Linked DNA regions of Homo sapiens: region 1 is linked to region 2. The links are contacts of gene promoters, found by promoter capture Hi-C in human tissues and cell types (Jung and others, 2019). All regions are on one chromosome and are shown on one strand. The core of a region is centred on a gene start or on the middle of the fragment in contact, and the rest is flanking DNA. Distances in the headings are between cores, read along the strand shown.

Region 1 (5,456 bases), core at 2,072-4,571, 100 kb after region 2:
AAGCTATGAGAACTTAGAGTCCAAAGGAAGAAAGAAAGAAGAAAATAAGGTAAGAAAATAGTTAGCAGAGGGCTGATATTTGTGGTATTTCAGCCGTAACATGATATAGTTAATGACTAGATATAGGTCCCCAGGACATACAATTATTCACCATGAGGCGTCAAGCAAGAGAGTTCATGGCTCAAAGTCTGGTTTGTTTCTATAAACGGGAGATGATAATAGCATGTGCCACCTACCTGCCTCTCCTGGGGTGTCTGAGGACAAGTTAACATTTGCACTGTGCTTTGAAACTCTGGGATGAAAGGTGTGAAGAAACTACAAAGAGGTATTGTACTTGGTGATTTGCATTTGGTCATGAGCCACTTTGGATTCTTGTCTGAGACCAGACCTGGCACATGCAGTGGGAGCATGTAGGGTTAGGTCAGGAGAGCAGTTGGGGTGCCGTAGGCCATGCCCCTGAAGCAAGGGTCTGTGGGCTGTCACCTTGGGGGAAATCCAACACTGAAGAGAAGGTGCCTCAACCAGGAGATTTACTTTCTGATAGACTAAAGGGTGCAGGAGCTGTGACTTCTCTTGTTTCTGATTTGCAAAAAAAAAAAAAAAAAAAAAAATTCTCCAGGCAGTAAGATTGTACCTAGTGCAGCAACTCCCTGGTGTCTTGGTAATCAAGGGGATAGCCCCAGGTCGGCCTAATTTTTTGCTCTTGCTCTTCCTAATTTCTCCTTCTCATCTCCATGACCACTTGCAGTGACTGTCTCTAGGTGGAAGCTGGAGAGATACTTAGGTAAGGTTCCAGCCAGGCAGATAAAAGTTTCATAAACATCAGCTTTTAAACAATTACCAGTGCCTCTTGCCTCACCTTGTGGGCTGGCCTCCTTTTTCTTAATTTTCCTCTTTTAGGTGGTTCCTGATTTCCATTTTCATTTACTCCTCTCACCATTTCCATGGTGGTATGTATGACTGGCTATTAGTAAGGGGGGGTGCAGTGCTCAGTGTATGGTTTGCTCTAGGCCCTAGAACCTGGCGGGGCATATACCCAGGAGCTGGATATTCCCATGTCTATGGCAAAACCCAGCTGTCTTCATTTTATCCCCTACCTGCTTCTGAATTAGGATCCCGTGGCCTTTGTTTGTTTTACCCCCTCACTTTTGCCAGCAAAACCTCGGTTATTTAAAATGCCTGGTGAATTAGGTGATTATAAGTGACATTTAGAGTTTAAAAGTGGTAGGTTTTAATCCAAGCTTCCCCCTTCCTTATCCCTGGTGTGCTTGAAAAGTGCACTTGACCTCTGAGTCTGAGTTTTCTCACCTGTTAAAATGAGGTAATAATGCCTATCCCACCTATTCACAGGAGCATTTTGAGAATCCGAGGGTTTAAAGTAAGTGAAAGCACTTTGTAAACTGTGAACCACTAAGCAAATGTTAGTGATTATGTTGAAGATGGTCATTAGTTTCTGGACCTGTGCAGAGAACATTGTACACAGACGATAAACTGAACAGGATTTAAATTAGCTAATTAAGTTGGAGCTTTAAAATGCTTTTAACTAAGTCATTCAGAAGCAGCAGGGCCCACATGCAGACATCTGAACCTCCACGCACATGAAGAGCCATGTGTGAAGGGCATTTCAGTTCTTGGGCTCTGTCAGCATTGATGACAACAAAGGCATGATGAGCTTAACTTTTATATTGATTCTGTTTGACTCTCTGGTGATGGGTTTCCATCTCTGGAGATCTGCCACAGGGCATCTGGCATCCCAGGGCATGTGGTTAGAACTATATTCTAAGGGTGATGGGAAGCCATTGGAAGGTTTAAAAACAGGAGTAACCTGATCTACTTGCCTATCTCTGAGGCTAGTTTTAGTGCTTTCTCATCAATTCTGTGAACTTCTCAATAGATTTCCAATAATCCTTTTTCTGCTTACTGGAGTTGGTATCTATTGTTTGCTTGCAGTCGACAGTGAAGAGACTGCTTGGTGCGGGGGTTTTCACTGTCAACCAGTGAGAAATGATGATGGCTTGGATTGAGTATGGTGGTGAAGATGGAAAGAAGTAAATGGAATGGATTTAAGATGGTGTTGGAGGAATAGGCACTAGAATTTCCTGGTGGTTCGTATATTAGTCAGCTAGGGCTGCCATAACAAAGTACCACAGATGGGGTGGCTTAAACAACAGAAATTTATTTTGTCACATTTCTGGAAACTAGAAGTCTAAGATTAAGGTGTTGGCAGGGTTGGTCTCTTCTAAGGCCTGTCTCCTTGGCTTCTAGATGGCCATCTTACTCTGGTGTCTTTGCATGGTCTTCCTGCTATGAGTGCACATGTCCGTGTTCAGATTTCCTCTTTCTCATCCTTCTTATAAAGACACATATCATATTGGATTAGGGCCCAATCTAATGACCTCATTGTAACCTAAGTATCTCTTTAAGACCTTATTGTCAAATATCATAATATTCTGAGGTAACTGGAGTTTAGGACTTCAACATATGAATTTCAAGGGGATATAATTCAGCCCATAACATGTGGTAAGAGGGAAAGAGAAATCAAAGAAACTTTGATAATTGGTTTGAAAACATTTGTTCATGTTTGTGTAAGCCCAGAAACAGTCTGGAAGGAAAGGCACTAAACTTTTATCGGAGCTGATCCAAGAAGTTGCCAGGAGTCATGGTGAGGGCAGGGGCTTCCTTTCATATTTTATACCCCCAAATATAATTTTTGTTGTACTTACTTCATATTTTGTATACAAAAACAGTGATTTCATTATGGATACTTAATTTTTATCTTCTGATATTGTAAATAGAATATAAAAAATGCTTTAAAAAGAAACTGGAAAATGTGGGGAGGTATTCAATTAAAGACAGAATTAGATTAATGGAAAATGTTTGGGTCCATTTAAAAGTCGAAGGAAAAAGTAGACTTTGTTGACTAAATTCAAAAAATGTTAATATTTTGAAGGGAAAAATGGGATGGAGAACATGGGGAGATTTTTATTGTGGAAATCGTCAAACCTTCCACTTTGGAGGAGAAGTTTTCACAGCCAAGTAGCAGAGCACTGTGTCTTCTTTGATAGCATTAATTACATCCTTTGGGGTCCACAGCTATCTAGAATTGAGACCAGCAGCTAGTAGGAGTTTACCTATATGGAATGAGGTGTCCCCGAGAGAGCTTGTGAGTGGGCTGTCCAATCTTGCTCCCTCTCTCTGGCAATTTGGCCTTGGGGAGGGGAGGGGAAATAGGCTTCCGCTGGTGGGAGCAAGTGGGGAGCACTACTTACCGAGGGCTGTGGAAAATGGTCAAGCTGCCAAACCAAGTGACCAAACAGCCAAGGTAGGCACAAGTGGCAGGATGAACAAGAGGCAGCTCAGGACCCTGAAGCAGGCCCGAAGCTGGTGAGCTATGGTCTTCAGTCATAGGTGGAAGTGTGTCTTGGATGGTGAAGACTTTTTGTTTTTTTTGAGATGGAGTCTTGCTCTGTCGCCCAGGCTGGAGTGTAGTGGCACAATCTTGGCTCTCTGCAACCTCTGCCTCCTAGGTTCAAGTGATTCTCCTCCCTCAGCCTCCCGAGTAGCTGGGACTAGAGGTGCATGCCACCACGCCTGGCTAATTTTTGTATTTTTAGTAGAGACAGAATTTCACCATGTTGGCCAGGCTGGTCTCAAATTCCTGGCCTCAAGTAATTTGCCCACCTGGGCCTCCTGAAGTGCTGTGATTACAGGTGTGAGCCACCACGCCCTGCCAGTGAAGACTTCTTGAGAGGAATGGACATCCTTTCTACTTCCCAGGGCGTCCCCTGAGACCCAGAGGCCCATGTTTTAAGGAAATAAAGACATAAGTCTGGTGGACTCTATTGAAGATTCACCCATCCATCTATCTGTAAGCAGACAGGGAGGATCTCCAGGGACTATAGGAATTTAATCAACTTGAGCAATCAGCCTGTTTTACAGCATCTTGTCTTGAAGCCTGTTTTGTCCCAAACCCTATGTGGAATGTGGTCACCCAGTTGGTTGACACCAGCTCCTGACAGACCCTGGCAAATTATAAATGAACCTGAGTGAACTTTCCTCATTACTATGCTAGAGTCCACCCCCCCACCAACCCCCTCAGGGGAGCTATAGCCTCATTACCATAACATGTGACCTATGTGCTGGTGTGATGACTCATTGCATCTGCACCACTGGTGGGACCCTTCCTCTACATGCGCTGACACTTCCTCTCTACTCTCCATTGCCCCGTAAAACCCTCCTGTCACTTTCCCTCAGGGAGACACTGCCTTGGAGAACACACCAGTGCTCTTCTTTTTTGTGACAAATAATAAAATGCTTATTGAGAAAAAACCTGTGTTCTCGTGGAGAGTTGTTACTTGCCAGGCAAATGAACCCCATTTTTTTCAGGTAATATAGTCAATCATGAATTTAGCAGTACCAGACCATAAACAAACTCTAACTACACCAACATCATTAATTCAAATTAGCTTTGGGGGAATGCTTGCGAAGAAAAGCATTTTCATGAATTTCCAATATGTAGGGTGATGAAAATGAAGCTAGAAGCACGTTACCAACTAGAGGTTCTTTGAGGGTCAGCTTTTAAGGAAAGATGACAATAATTTGTAAGTAGTATAAAAATGTTTACATGTAAATGGATGCTGCTATGGTTCTTACAATATGTTTCTTCAAGTAAGGTAAAAAATTTGGGCTGAGATTTTGTTTATTGTCCTCATTTACTTAGCAAACTTTTCTTCACAGATAGCATGAAGGTAACCTTCATCTCAGACAATGTCTGAAATCGCATATATTTTAAAATAATAGATTTCCTTTTCATAAGAATTGTTTCTATTAACCCTAGCCCAATAAGAAGAAAGGTATAGCAGTAGGAAGAAAAAAAAAATAATGCTTATTCTGGTATACGTAAAAATCATAATCTAAGTTGTCTGATGTTTCAAATTCTTTCAATTTGTCTTTACCACAGTGGATAAGTCAAAGTTAAGATCTAGAAGTCACTAGAATAAAATTATAAAGTTGAAAACATGACAGTACAGTTGCAAGGCTTCACTCCAGAAGCTTCATTTGAGTTACCGAGGGCAGTGGTGGTGGGAATCGTGTTCAGAAGGACATCCTTAAAGTTTCAGATCTTGCTGAAATAAAAATACCAGGCAGAGCTGGTTAACGGGTTAGCGTTCATCCCAGTGGCTCAAGTTCACCCTGATGATTAATTACAGTCTTGTTCGCCTGGTGTTAATAAGGCTTCCAAGAAGCCAGGCCCCTCCTCCCCACCAACCTCTGAAATTATTCTTCATTTTCAAGCACTGTGATAATCAACCAGAAAAAAATAATAGCGGCTCTGGAGACCTGCCCCAACCGGCTCTCTTGCTTGTTCTCTTTGAATCTTTTCTCTGGCCTCTTTACCTCACATGCTTCCCCTATGTGCAGTTTCTCTTTAGGCTGTAGAACACACACACACACAC
Region 2 (5,346 bases), core at 2,847-5,346:
AAACCATATAAAGTTGCTATTACTTAACAATTTTGACTATAAAAATGAGGCTCATATAGTTCAATCTAGTATTTTTCTTTTTTTTTTTTGTCTTTTTTTTTGAGACAGAGTTTTGCTCTTGTTGCTCAGGCTGCAGTGCAGTGGCGTGACCTTGGCTCACCACAACCTTGGCTCACCACAACCTCCGCCTCCCAGGTTCAAGTGATTCTCCTGCCTCAGCCTCCTGAGTAACTGGGACTACAGGCACACGATTCCACGCCCAGCTAATTTTTGTATTTTTAGTAGATATGGGGTTTCACCATGTTGGCCAGGATGGTCTCGATCTTTTGACCTCGTGATCTGCCCACCTTGGCCTCCCAAAGTGCTGGGATTACAGGCGTAAGCCACCATGCCCGGTCCTCAATCTAGTATTTTTCATTTTGACAGTATCTTTGTTTATAAAACCATCAAAAAGATGTCAAAATATATGATCATATAACAAAGTGAAAAGTGCAATAACAATACAAAGATATATCACTATAACTATCTTAACATTAAAAAAGTTTAAATGTTAGATCCTCTAAAGAGCACAAAACTATTCATTTAAGTAGCACTAACTGCTCAATACCCAAAGTACATTGGAATATGCCACTTTTTTATTTACTGGAAGATGAGTGGACTGATAATTACCTACCTTCCTCAATGCAGTTTGACACATGACTTTTCAAATTAAAGGATTATGTTCTTCTAGTTATCACTAGAATTTCTTCAAGTAAAAGATTAAACTTAAAAACTCGTTAACTTTACAAAATAAATAGAAGCATTTCCTCTTTTATTAAAAACTTTACTGAACTACCTCATTGACAATAGAGCAAGTTAGACTTAAGAGTTAGGGATTTCAGGATAGTTTTGATGGTTAATTTATTTATGGATATGGTTTACCTCTCCATTCTTTTTACTGTCCTAAGGTTACCAAATTAGGTACATTCAATATTTTAATAAGTCTCTTTATTTTGGAGGATACTAAATCAAAACCGTAAACGGACTTCTAAGAATAAATGTAATTCTCATACAATATATAATTCAATATTCAGGCATTGGGTTAAACCATATTATTTCATTTGAAGGTGAATTCCATTCCTTGTGAAGTTCCCCTAAAATTCAACACACTGCAACAAATTAAGCCACCTACTGAGAGAATAACACTTTCTGTCCCATATAAAGGTGACCCTTCTTCCATCATTATATAGAAATATAAAAGCAAAAGTAATTCACACTGGATGAGCATGAGTTTCATTCTTCCATTATGAATTAGACTGAACAAACATTCAAAATACTATGACTCACTTGGCTACATTACTGAACACTTTATTAAATGGAAAACAAGATAAACTCTAAGAATCACATTTTGAGAGTTATAGATGACTTTTAACTTAGAGTTATATCAACAAGAAAAACATGTCTTTATTAGAAATAAACTTTTCATTGTTATTTTAAGAATGATGAAACATTTAAAATGCTACATACTGATTCTCTTAAGAGCACTTCAAAGTGGCACTCTTTAAAAAGCTGCAAATGTTGCCAAGTCATGTTATAACTGGCTCAAAGAATCCTATTTCCATTAAGTTATTTCATGCCACTGCATGAATCAATATTAAATACCTTGGAGTTACTAAAAACTGGAATACTGGCAGAGATGTGCTCAGCAATTATAAAATACGAAAATGTGAATACTCTTTTTCCACGTTTCTTTTAATAATGGCTAGAAATGAGGATGTTCTTTCTAGGTAAACAGAAATAGTTTCCTAAAAGCTAAAGGAAAGATGTAATATCTTAAATGCTAGCAAAGTGTCATGGATCCATAGCCATAGCTCTCTCAAAAGAAAAATGAAATACATTTTGAAGCCTAATATTACCTCCAAACATTTTATTAGCCTAACAAATTGCCAGAGCCATTAAAAAATTTTTTTATCAAAGTCAATACAGTGCTCTTTTTCCTTATTCAATTAAAAAGCATAACTTGCTGTCATTTTAACCAGGCTGCACTTTAATCAAACATGTCTTAAATGACACATTTTTTCATGTCAAAGACATAACATAAATTTAAAAATTAAGAAATAAATTTTTTTGAAAGCTAAGTTCAGATGACATCTGGCCCTGCAGTGAAAGAGTTAACATCCAACTAAGCTGATCTGCACTTCTGATCCATTACATTTCTCACAAGCTACCCTACAATGAGCTGAGCAAGTATCAACTGTAATTTGATCCTAGAGTTTATGGAAAAAAATAACTGCACATACTCAACATGCACATTTAATAAAAATCTGTTTCAAGAGAAACATATCCAATAAACACAATTTAAGGCATATTTAACTGTTCAATTAACCTCAAATCTGCAATCCCTTTGCTCTCACGCTCTCAAATAAAATAGGAAGAAAAAAAAAAGCAGCAGCCCTACTGCAGGGAAAAGAGGCTTGAAAAACAACTTTGATTGGCACTTGGCCTGACCCACAGAGGAAGAAAAACAGTTTTTGGACAAAGAGCGCAAATATTTGAGCTTGCTTACTTATGTGCTTTTTTCTTTCTTCCTTTTTTAAAAAAAAATGTAGAAAGAACAATCCCAAAGTGAACCGTATTTAGAGATGTTGACTAAAAACGGTACCATATTCATCTCCGCTTTCAGTCCCGATGCATTTGCACAGCTCAGCAATTTTAATTCATTTGTAGTGAACAAACAGAAGCATCTCACCTAACGTTTCCACTTAATAAAATGTAAAAATAGAGTTTGAATACGAATAAACTGATTATAATATTACTTTGGGGCAGCTGTTAAAATCTGATCAAAAAGTCTAGAGACCTTTTTTTCATTCCCTTCCCCATCCCTCTCGCCCTTCCCCGCGGGGCGATTAAGCCAAGTAAGCTAAACAATACTGGAGTAAACTTTCTATCAGTCACTCTAGGAAGCAGCAATAAACTGATGGTGCGCCTCATTTTTCTGGATCAACACGGGGGCAGGGGGGTGCTAAGGAGGAATAACCCACATCCACCTCAGTCTTCTCCTCCCCCAACCCCAGCCTCAGGAACTGGCCAGGTCGAATTGCATTTCCCATGGGCATAAAGTTCAAGATGCTTTACTGGTTCCTTTCGAGACTGAACTACAGACACAGGACTACCATCCAAACAATTTGAAAACGGGGGTTGTTGAGCAAGGCGCGCAAGGCAGAAGCAACCGAATAAACAAAAACAACACTCGCAAGAGTTAGCCACAGCAAAGAGGGGCCAGGTTCCTCGGGATCCGACCCAGCTGCTCTGATTTCACACCGACCTCCATCAACAGCTAAACTGCACAGGGAGGAGGATCGAACGGATCCCTCCCGCCCTCCGCCCAAGGAGCCGACCCGGGGTAGCAAGGTAGGGAAATGAGCCGTAAAGGAGAGCAAAGGCACCAAATAAAAGGAACAAGGGAAGAAAAAATATCCCAACCCCTCCAGACTTGGGTCTGTCCCGGCGGAAATAAAAAGCCGCAGTAGTCCAAACCCTCCTGCCCTCAACCCACGCCCCCTTTCTCAGTCCCTGCGGAGGGACGGTGCCCGGGGATCCCTCTCAGCCTCCCCCAGTGCGCGCCCGGGGACGAGCCGCCCGAGCCCCGGCCGGCAGGAAGCGACCCTCGCCGGCAGGACCCCGGGCCGAACCCGTACCTTCCGCAGCACTTTCCGGCAGTTGGTACAGAGCAGGTAGTTGGCGGCGGCCGACGGGCTGCCGCCGCCCCGGTTCATCGTGGCTGCGGGCGCCGAGGCGAGAGCGGGCGGAGGGCCGGGTCCGGGCTGTCACTGCGGCCACTGCAGGGCCGGTCCGTCCCCCCGCCGCCAGCCGCGATTCCGCCTCAGCCTCCTCAAGGCGGGATGTCGGGAGGAGAGGCGACTGCCTGAAAGCTAGCGGCACTGCCAGAGGCGACCACCGCGGCAGCTGCCCCAGCGACGGCGGAGACGGCGGCGGCTGCTCCTCACCGGCCCGTTGTTCCACCCGCCCCCATCTTCCAGACCCCCGCCCCCGCCAGGCTAGGACGAGCAGCCGCCACCGCTGCCACCGCCACCACCGCCGCCGCAGCGCCTCAGTGCGGCCCCGCCTCCGCCGCCCCACCACCTTCACCACCTCCACGCTCCGGTACCGCCCCTCCCGCCAATCGGACAGCTCCGGCTACGCCCCCAGGGCGCTAGCCCGCAGCCAATGAGCAACGAGAGCCCGACTGGGAGTCGCGCCGGCCAATCGCAGGGGCCGAGGAAGCCTTGAATCTCCGGGCAAGTTAAGTTTATCTCCGAGGCTCGGAACTGAAGGGAGGTGGCGGTTAGCTAAGTAGTAGGGTAGCAGGGAACAGTTTGCTCTCCTCTGCCAATAAGAGGACGAGGGTGTGTCATATGCAAATATACTGCCCTCCAAGCCCCACCCCCAAGATAAGCTACGCCCCCTTCTCTAGGTCCCTGCAGAAGTGGTGAGGAGAATGAGATAAATAGTTGGGAGCTAGAGCTCGCTAGAGAGTCTAAGATTGAGCTAAATATTTCCTGATCTCTCGAGAAAGGGGGAGGGGAGTGGGAGGATTAAATGTTCCTTCCTTCAGGGCAGTGGTTAGGCTTTCTCTCCACCAAAATCTAACTTTAGCTGTAAAGAAGACTGCAGTTATGTAGTACTTTGTATCCAGGGATCTCAAAGAACTTTACGCATCATTTATTGTGAACCTTGTTTTGCAAAGATTTCAGTTACTTGAGGCTTGGGAGGCGGATAGGGGATAAATGTCTGAGTTATATATATATTTACGCAAGTAATCGAGTTTGAGGGGAGAGACACAAAACCTCTGGTTTAGCGGTTTCCTCTTGTTTGTGAAGCACCTTCTAGCAGTTATCTTAGAGATGTAAGTTCATTTACTTGTCCAGCACTAAAAGGCCAAAGGGGCTTGTTTTCTCACCCAAAAGACCTTCCTGAGGCAGCTGTTCGGATACATGCAGAGCACAGCGCCCTGCTCAGAAAGGAAGGTTCAGAGAACAAATTGTCGTTTAAAACTATTGGGACAAACCTACCTCTTCTAAAGCTTAAAATGGTAAGTCAGGGTTTTAGCGTCCACGTTCTGCGGAGAGAAGGCAGACTTGACTGGGGAAAGCGCAGGCTGACCGAGTGTGGCGGGACAGACGGGTAGGGGAGCCAGGTCTCCCGAAGGGGCTAGCAATGCGCGTCCGAGTCGAATGCGGGTTCCCGATGCTAGACGCCCGCAACCTGCTCCCGAGTGAGAACAAAGGCCGGCGCAGAGCGAGAACCTGATTGGTGCCCGGTCCTCACTCGTGTCCTCCGGGCCCCAGAGATAACTTGCATCGCCTA

The links. The method cuts DNA at HindIII sites, captures the fragments that hold promoters and counts their contacts. A contact is called where the count stands out against the background at its distance.
Region 1: a contact is called between a fragment that was not itself captured here and the fragment with the promoter of SESN3 in region 2, in 3 of the 25 tissues and cell types used here (bladder, dorsolateral prefrontal cortex and hippocampus).

What each region holds. Positions count from the first base shown.
Region 1 is chr11:95,332,047-95,337,502 of GRCh38, forward strand. No RefSeq gene overlaps it. Among named protein-coding and RNA genes, the nearest start is that of SESN3, 100 kb to the left of the region's middle. RefSeq lists an enhancer at 4,556-5,456. The HindIII fragment of the contact is 6,191 bases long and covers 227-5,456 here.
Region 2 is chr11:95,227,106-95,232,451 of GRCh38, forward strand. SESN3 (sestrin 3) reads right to left here and starts at 4,097. Exons shown (of 10, transcript NM_144665.4): 1 at 3,678-4,097. The coding sequence starts at 3,755. LOC100129203 (a long non-coding RNA gene) reads left to right here and starts at 3,081. Exons shown (of 6, transcript NR_110295.2): 1 at 3,081-3,390; 2 at 4,020-4,468; 3 at 4,947-5,071. RefSeq lists silencers at 3,651-3,960, 3,971-4,120 and enhancers at 4,476-5,115, 5,116-5,346. The HindIII fragment of the contact is 13,238 bases long and covers 1,493-5,346 here.